Regions from separate parts of the Homo sapiens genome. Here region 1 is linked to region 2. The links are contacts of gene promoters, found by promoter capture Hi-C in blood cells and fetal thymus (Javierre and others, 2016). All regions are on one chromosome and are shown on one strand. Each heading gives the region's core, a stretch centred on a gene start or on the middle of the fragment in contact. The rest is flanking DNA. Distances are from core to core; before and after follow the strand shown.

Region 1 (4,666 bases), core at 1,737-4,236, 2.6 Mb before region 2:
AAGTACAACTTTTCTAAATTTGTGGGATGCAGTAAAAGCGGGGATATTTATAGCAGTAAATGTATACATTTGAAAAGAAGAAAAATCTAAAATCAACAACCTAAATTGTCACCTTGGATAATAGAGAAAGAAGAGCAATTTAAGCCTAAAACAAGCAGAACAAAGAGGAATAATAAAAATTAGAGAATGAAATTGAAAATAGAAAACAATAGAAAAAAATCAACAAAACAAAGAAAAAGCTGAAAAGATGATTAAAATTAATAAACCTGTCCAGGTTAACCAAGAAAAAAAGACATTGGGCATAGTTTGCCAATATCAAAAAATGAAAGAGGCGTCATCTCTACTAATTTCATAGATGTTAAAAGAATAATAAAGGTTTATGATGAACAACTTTACACCCACAAGTTTGAATATTAGATAAAAAGGACCGATTCCTTGAATGATACAACTACATTTTACAGAAAAGCAAACAGATCACCTAATAGCTCTGTATCCACAAAGAATCAATAATTAATGAAGTCTCAAAAAAATCACCAGATTCAGATGGTTTCACCAGGGAATTTTACCAAACATTTATGGAAGAATTGATATAGGTTCTTTACAATTTCTTACAGAAAATACAAGTAAATATTACTTCTTAACTCATTTTATGAGGCCAGCATTACCGGCATACCAAAATAAATTAAAGACATTACAAAAAAGAAAACTATAGCCAAATATTTCTCATGAACATAGATGCAAAAGTCTTCAACAAAATATTAGCATATTGAATACAATGGTGTATAAAAACAATTATATACCATGCCCAAGTAGAATTTGACCCAAGTATGCAAGACCGGTTCCTTGAAAATCAATTGAAAATCAATGTAACCCATCATATCAACAAGCTAAAGAAAATAAAATCACATGACCGTATCAATAGATGCAGAAAACGAATTTGGCAAAATCCAACATTCATTCATGATAAAAACTCTGCAAACTAGGAATAGAGAGAACTTCCTAATCTTGATAAAGAAGAACTAAAAAAATCCTACTGCTAACATCATATTTAGTGGTAAGAAACTGGATACTTCCCCTAAATTCAGGACAGGACTGTTAAGAGAATGAAAAGACAAGCTTCCACTGGAAGAAAATACCTGCAAAACACGTATCAGATAAAGTACTTCTATCCAAAATACACAAAGAACTCTTAAAACTCAACCATAAGAAAACAACCTTTTTTTTTTAATGGGCAAAAGATGTGAACAAACATCTCACCAAAGAAGATATACAGGTGCATATGAAAAGTTGCTCCACATAATTTTTCAGTAGAAAATTGAAAATTAACAACGATATAGCACTATATGCCTACTAGAATGTCTAAAATTATAGATGATAGACGGATGGATGGATGGATGGACAGATAGATAGATAAAGATAGCCAATATCAAGTGCTGGTGAGGATGAAGGAAAGGGATTCATATTTGCTGACAGTTATAAAAATGCTATAGCCACTCTAGAAAACTGTTTGGTTCTTATAAAGTTAAACAAATTTACCATAAGATCTAGCAATTGCACTCCTAGATATTTAGTCAACTAATTTAAAAAATTTGTCCGTACAAAACGCTGCATGCAAATGTTTATAGAATGTTTATTCACAGTCGCCAAAAACTGGAAACCACGCAAATATTCTCCAGTGGGTGACTAAACAAAATGTGGTACAAATAATGAGACTCCCCTCAACAATAAAAAGGACTATTACTATACACAATAACATGGATGAATCTCCAAGGTATAATGATGAGGGAATAAAGTCAGTTTCAAAATGTTACATATTGCGTAATTCCATGTATACGACACACTCACAAAGACAAAACCGTAGCAATGGAGAACCTATCAGTGGTTACCAAAAGTTAGGGTTGGCGGGGGCGCTGTTATAAAAGGGCAGAACTAGGGAGCTCTTTATTGCGCTAGTGGTTACATGAATCCAAACAAGGGTTCAAGATCACAGGATTATATATCAAATAACCAATTTTACTGAATATCAATTTTAAAAGTCAAATAAATTATTAAACACTATTAAACATATACAATGTTTAAAGTCAAGCAAAAAGTCCTAAACTAAAAGTAAAATAATGATTGTTTAGAAGTACACCAGGATGGTATGGGTCATCTGCAATATAACGTCCTGTTTGGGATAAGGAAGCGTGACTACATCTACAGGGTGACGTGAGAAGGGCCCAGAGCAGCGAGCAGGTCTTGCCATCAGGGAGGGGAACCATCTGAAGGGGTGGCGTGAAAAAGTCTTTAGAGGAAGGCAAAAAATGGGAAAAGGTCAGAGAACCTTTTTGGGAGGTAAAAGGACCAGCTTTGGATTAGGCGTGATGCACAGGCCCCAGCGCAGGGCGTAGAAACTGCAGCCTGGACAGCCTGGGTGGGAGAAAGTTTGGGATGTTTAGGAAGGAAGGGTGCGCCAGCCAGGGGGAAGAAACGAGACAGGTGGCCGCAGATGGCGCGAGTCAGGCAGCAGGAAAAGGCAGGCTGTTTAAGCAGCCTTTTCCTGCAGTCCAGGCGGAGAGCGCAGAAGGAGCACCCCGAGGGGCAAGCATGGGAGAGCCGGAGCGGGCTCGCGGGCGCGCGGGCGCTGTACGTCCCCTCCTCGGCTCGCGGCCGCGAGCACGCGCTCTCCGTGCCCGGCCCCGGAGGGGCGGGGGCGGGGCACAGGCGCGGCGCGCGCACGTCCGCGCGGGGCGGGGGCGGGGCGCGAACGCGACCGGTGACGTCAGAGGAGGGCGCGCGCCCGGAGGCAGCAGGCGGAGCCGGGAGGCGGGCGTTGTGCGCGGCCGCGGGCGGAGCGGAGGGGCGCGAGGGGCGGAGCGGAGCGCGGGAGGAGGCGGGGGAGGAGAGGCCACCGGGACCGCGAGCGGCAGCTGGGGAGGGGGCCGCGGAGCCCGAGCGGGAGCAAAACAGCTGATCTGGTTTTCCTTTAAAGCGAGAGAAAATGGAAGTCGGGTAGCGGCGACTGCGGCGCTGCGGGCTGGCGGAGCGGAGCGGCGCGGCGCGGCAGGTAAGACGGCGCTGGCCGCGGTGCTGCCGGCGGGCGGCGGGGCCGGGCCCGCGGACCAGGCAGGTGCGCTCTCCGGGCGCGGGGCCGGCGCCGTCTCCTTCCCGAGCTCCGTGGCGAGGCAGGTGGGCGTTGAGGCCGGGCGACCGCGGGGCCGGGGCGCGGGGACGCGGGGGGCGCGGGCCCCGGCTGGGCTCGCCGGCGCGTCTGCATTGCGGGCTCCGCTCCGGACCCCGCGGGCTCCCGGGCCACCGGCTCCGGCCCGGCGTGGCGCGCCTCTCTCGGGCAGGGCGCGGCGCTACCGCTGGGTCGGGGCTGCTGCCTCCGCTCAGCCCTTTGGCTGTCCGCACTGGAACGTGATGCCAGGCGTGGGGCGACCGACCCCTCGGTCCGTGCGCGCGCGTCGGGGGTCCCGCGGCTCTTGCAGACGGCCGGGCAGGGCCCGGCCCCGAGCCGCGCGCGAGGCCGCTCGCCGGGCACCGGAGCTGTGACTGCGTGGGTCCCCGCGGCCCGGCGCACCGCCGTCCCGCTCGCTCTGCTGGGTCTCGCTGGACAGCAGGCAAACCATTAAGGCAATTTGGCTGTGAACCCAGAGGCCTTCCCTAGTATCTCCTCACTGGAGGGGAAAAAATTGCATCTGCGGTGCTTTAAGTGCTCCTTTAAATTTGGGAGATGTCAGTGATGTCATCATTAACTAAAACTTTCCTTCATTGGACACAACCGCTCAAGTGTACCCTCCTCCCTCCCGGTGAAGCTATTGCAGCCCTTTGAGAATCTCTGTAATAAAATGGATTTGCCTCTGCTCTGTAAACTCAGCTACCTCACACAAGTGCAAATGACTTTTATTTCTGTCTATTGGCTTGAGAATGTATAGATTTAAGAGTAGCTGAAGGGAAACTTGTGAGACCCCGATCAGGGAAACGCTTCATCCACAGCACAAGGATCCAGGGGAAAGTCATGTATGACATGCACATGGTTACCGCCAGGTGATACCTTTGTAAATGGAAGTGGGCTGTAAGAGGAACAATTTTTAAAAATATGATGAGGCAGATAATGTGTCCAGGAAAAGGTTGACAGCGGGGCCTAAATCTTTACAGGTCTTAATTGCTTCAGGAAAATCTGCAGGTGTCCTTCACCATCCTCCTCCTCCTCCTCCAGGGTGTGCCCGGAGAAGCCTGCCCTGGGCGAAGGCGGGGAGGCAGGTTCACTAGGGTCCTCCCAGCAGCCGTGTGTCCCACCAGCTTCAAAGGCCTCTTCAAGACCCAAAGAGGGTTCACGAGAACAGAGGTAGATCTGCACGGCACACTCAGTTCTGGATAAACATTCCCCACTAAATGGGATCAACACTCCATTATTTTATTGTGAGTGTGCCATTAGTACCAATTCTTATGGGAACAAAACTAAGCAAGTTCCCAAGGCAATCTGAGTATCTACTCAAGCCTATCATATCGAAAGGATATCCAATAAGGGACAAAAGTATTGACATTTTTGTATTTAATAATTAATGACACCTCCTAATTGGTTAAAATAAGCATGCCTTAAATTGTTAGTGTGATTTTATTGGATCTGTAAGGAATTTAATACCATATGCCACTCAAAAGTTGGGACCTGGTTAGGAACTTC
Region 2 (4,716 bases), core at 1,447-3,946:
CCTCGTCATCCTTCAGTTGACACTAACAATAAAGTAGAACAAATATAGTGTAATAAGTTATATTGTGGTTTCTCTTTGAAAATATCCTAATATTTTCGGACTGTGGTTGACTGCAGGTAACTGAAACCACAGAAAGTAAAACTGCAGACATGGAGATGGAGCAGCAACTACTATAATCATTGGCTGTTGTCGGTTATATTTATTGTTACTAATGTTAGTATTGTTATCACCACAGTTTCTCCCCAGACATCCATGGCTTCCAGTATCAATCCAAGGTGGAATGTGGGTCTGGATGACTTCTCCATGCAGGGCCTAAAACTTCATTCTAATACTCTTATTTTATGTCTGCATTTTCTCACCTGCATTCTTCTGGAAAGAGTGTAGAGAGATGTTTTGAGACTTAAAAACTGGTATCTCTTCTCCTCTATCTTGAGTAATGACAGTCTGCTATCTAGGTAAGCGTGCTGCTGGAGGACACTGCTGATTTTCACAGTGACAGGGGTAGTCTGACTGGTGGGCTGCTTGGTAACGTACATGAATACCTTAGCAAGAAAGAGCACTGAAAAACCAGCCCAACTGTTGACAATAGCTTTTATCTAATTTTCCACTTTCCCCTTATATCTCGGTCACTGAACTTTTTTGACTCAAGGCACTGTAGCAGGACGAGCCGCAGACAAAATCTCTCAGACACCGAGTTGCACAAGGAAGGGCTTTATTCAGCTGGGAGCATCGGCAAGCTACTGCCTTAAAATCCGAGCTCCCCAAATGCACAATTTCTGTCCCTTTAAAGAGCTCACAACACTAAAGATTTTACATGAAAGGGTCGTGATTGATCAGAGCAAGCAGGCGGTATGTGACAGGGGCTACATGCACCGGTGGTCAGAGAGAAACAGAACAGGGCAGTTCTGTTCTTTATACAATGTTCTTCTATACAATGTCTGGAATCTATGAATAACATCGGTTTCTAAGTTATGAGTTGATTTTTAACTACTGGGTTTAGGCCAGGCAGGCCCAGGCCTGGTTTTGGGCCTGGCGCTGGGCTGCCTGTATTTGGTTTTACTTCCTTGTTGTTTTTTCTTAAAACAGGTACTGAGTATAAAACAATATAAAACAATATGAGACGGTCTCTCTATTCCCTCAATACAACATCCACATCCTGCAGTAGGGACCTTTTGCAGAATTCTAGATGGCAGGAAGCTTCTATGAACCTAAGTCCAGATTTTAATTTGCAAGGAAACTGAAGCAGATGAATTTTCTCATTGTAAAAAAATGAATGCCTTGATAATATATTTGTTTTTCATAGTAGGCCTTTGTCATTAAAATTGATGCCTGAGGATATAGTTGCATCTTGTGTGGAACAGTAAGTTATTACTCATTGCATACCAGATTTTAGCATACTTGCATTAGTTCATGGAATATGATTTTACATTTACTATTGCAGTTCCAGTGCCATTATCAGATTGCATTTTCCTACTGAATTACAAACAAAAGTGTTATGCTACTAACAATTAACAAAATTTTAATAAGGTTGTGTTTGATGCTATTACTCAGATAATGTGTTCTAAATTGCTTTCCTTTGAATATATTTGCATTAAAGAGGAACTCAATTTGGTTCTTTGAAGAGTTTATCCACTTTCTGGGTAGCTTTAAAAAGACACAGGGAAATTCAGTTTCTTCTTTGCAAGTAAATAGAGAAGAAACAAATTTGCTAAGATCTGTAGAAGTCATGGCAGCAGACTGCTGATGGTTTGAGTTAATGAAATGACTCATTTTGGCTACTTGAGTTGCACAATTAAAATATACAGTAGAGACTGTATATCACATCATAGATGAGAGATAAATCCCCCAGTGTTCTCTTTTTTTTCCTCAAAGCTAATATATTATGAATTAAGAAATTTAAGAGCTCCACATTATTGCAATTCTTGATCAGTGATGCCCCAAATTAAGTAGTAATCTCTTGAGAGTGCACGTTTGTTTGCAGCATTCCTCTTACCCATTTCTGCTAAAATTGTGGTTGTGACGAAAGCAGTTGTTTTCCAAAAGATAAACCCATGTGACCAAGCTAAAACATTTACCTAATACTGACACGTTTTTTGTGGTCTTCTCATAGTTGTCTAGCTAAAGGAGTTTAATGCAGAGAATATAAATACGGAAATAGTGAAACTGAAGTCCTGCTTGCGCAGAAAGCCTGCAGCCGACTTTGGTTTTTAACAGACTCCACGGGGCATTAGAGAAAGTAACTGGGGGCAGTGGGATGGAGGGTATGAAATTGGGTGGAGGGACGAAAACTAAGAGCCCTCTGGGTCTTTTATGTCCTTCTACATTTTGTGTAGAAATAAATGTTTTTACTTTACTTCCACGGTCGGCCCTTCCTCTTCACCTTTTTTTTTTCTCACACGTTCATCCTCTGAATTCTTTCCGTTTACAAATGCTCCCGATTTAGAAACTCATAATACTGTCTGTAAAACTTGCCTGAGCCTGTGTGGTCTGAATTTAGCGACACACTTGTTTAGGAGTTTCGGTTCTCGCTCTCTGTTTGCATGGTTTGGTAACAACACTTCACTATACTAAAAATCATCGCCCGGACCTGCAGGGCTGCACGGAAAACGCTGTTCCTTTTGGTACCCGCCGCAGCCGCGCAGGCGCACCGCCCAGCCGCCCTGACGCAAGGCGCAGGCTTCATGACGCAGCACGCAGTCTCAGCCGACACTGCGCGCGCCTCCAGGCACCGGCGTTAGCGGGTCGCCGACCCGCAATCCCCGCCGCGGCTGCTTGCCTACCGGAGTGTGCGCCGGCACCTGCCGCCGGAGACATGTTGCAAAAACCGAGGAACCGGGGCCGCTCTGGCGGCCAGGCCGAGAGGGACAGAGACTGGAGCCATAGCGGAAACCCCGGGGCTTCGCGGGCCGGGGAAGACGCCCGGGTTCTCAGAGACGGCTTTGCCGAGGAGGCCCCGAGCACGTCCCGCGGGCCGGGCGGCTCGCAGGGGTCGCAGGGCCCCTCGCCTCAGGGCGCCCGCCGGGCCCAGGCCGCCCCCGCCGTGGGGCCCAGGAGCCAGAAGCAGCTGGAGCTGAAAGTGTCCGAGCTGGTGCAGTTCTTGCTGATTAAAGACCAGAAGAAGATTCCGATCAAGCGGGCCGACATACTGAAGCACGTCATCGGGGACTACAAGGACATCTTCCCCGACCTCTTCAAACGGGCCGCCGAGCGCCTCCAGTACGTCTTCGGGTATAAGCTGGTGGAACTTGAACCCAAGAGCAACACTTACATCCTCATCAACACCCTGGAGCCTGTGGAGGAGGATGCCGAGATGAGGGGTGACCAAGGCACGCCCACTACGGGCCTCCTGATGATCGTCTTAGGGCTCATCTTTATGAAGGGCAACACCATCAAGGAAACTGAAGCCTGGGACTTTCTGCGGCGCTTAGGGGTCTACCCCACCAAGAAGCATTTAATTTTCGGAGATCCAAAGAAACTCATTACTGAGGACTTTGTGCGACAGCGTTACCTGGAATACCGGCGGATACCCCACACCGACCCCGTCGACTACGAATTCCAGTGGGGCCCGCGAACCAACCTGGAAACCAGCAAGATGAAAGTTCTTAAGTTTGTGGCCAAGGTCCATAATCAAGACCCCAAGGACTGGCCAGCGCAGTACTGTGAGGCTTTGGCAGATGAGGAGAACAGGGCCAGACCTCAGCCTAGTGGCCCAGCTCCATCCTCTTGAAAGGTGGATTCAGAGGGACCCCCGGGACAAGGGTCTGAGACCCAAAGGCACAGTTTAGAGGATTGGGGGAAGGGAGAACGAACCCAGGGAGCATATTGCTGTAAACGCTTCAATGTGTGTAGCTTTAGGATGTGTTTGCAAAGTTTTGTTTTTTTAATGTTGTGTTATTTTGCTCCAGATTTTCATCTATAAACAAAGGAGCATTTGTTTTGATTTTACTCTTTTTGGTATAAAAAATTTTGCTAGCTTAGTAAAACGAATTGGAAAACTTGACTATGATCTGGAACAGATAATGCAAGAAGGAACACATAAGTAAGTTGCTTTGGTGCCAAGAAAATAAAAAAGCTATTATCAGGTCTCCTAACTACCCCAGTTTGTAAGGAAAAATAAAAGTTTTTATAAAATTAAAAAAAATAATTGCCTATATCCTTATTATGTTAACCTATTTTATTTTTCTATATTTCGTACATATATAAGTATTATTCATGGTTCCAAGCAATGAGTGTAATGTATTTTCTCCCAATAGTAATTGTTTATATTCATAATTATTCAGCTCTGCTGCTAAACACGTAGTTCCACTTCGTTTTTTTCTTCTTGCTACTGTAGTTATTACAATAAATACTGTATTTTTGAAGCACTTAAGCATTGTGTGTTTTTTAAATCGTGGGTCATGAGAGAATTTCATGACTGGAAATCAACATCTTAAAGTTTTTGCTACATATTAAGGTCAATGCTGTTTTGTAGAAGTTGTTTCACTTTTGTGTGAAACAAAATCAGGATCATGAGGTGAAATATATTTCTCACTGTGGATCTCAAAAAGGCTTATAAAACAATAGCGTAACCATTAACCATGCCTGTTTGGGAATCGGACTGTCTGGGTTGAGATCCTGGCCCCACCATAACTAGTATATGAATTTACATAGGTTCCTTAGTTTGTATGCAGATGTTTCTTGACCTGTAAAATGGTTTTAGTCCGTGATGTGGAGAAT

The links. The method cuts DNA at HindIII sites, captures the fragments that hold promoters and counts their contacts. A CHiCAGO score of 5 or more calls a contact.
Region 1: a fragment that was not itself captured here is called in contact with the fragment with the promoter of NSMCE3 in region 2 in 2 of 17 cell types (non-activated CD4 T cells and activated CD4 T cells); the score reaches 12.4 in non-activated CD4 T cells.

What each region holds. Positions count from the first base shown.
Region 1 is chr15:31,868,887-31,873,552 of GRCh38, reverse strand. It overlaps OTUD7A (OTU deubiquitinase 7A), which reads left to right and starts at 2,880. Exons shown (of 13, transcript NM_001382637.1): 1 at 2,880-3,046. RefSeq lists a silencer at 2,848-2,917. The HindIII fragment of the contact is 3,736 bases long and covers 1,119-4,666 here.
Region 2 is chr15:29,267,802-29,272,517 of GRCh38, reverse strand. It overlaps NSMCE3 (NSE3 component of SMC5/6 complex), which reads left to right and starts at 2,696. Exons shown (of 1, transcript NM_138704.4): 1 at 2,696-4,716. The coding sequence starts at 2,813. The coding sequence ends at 3,727. All of the region lies in intron 2 of ENTREP2 (endosomal transmembrane epsin interactor 2), which reads left to right. RefSeq lists enhancers at 2,400-2,899, 2,900-3,401. The HindIII fragment of the contact is 8,019 bases long and covers 1,200-4,716 here.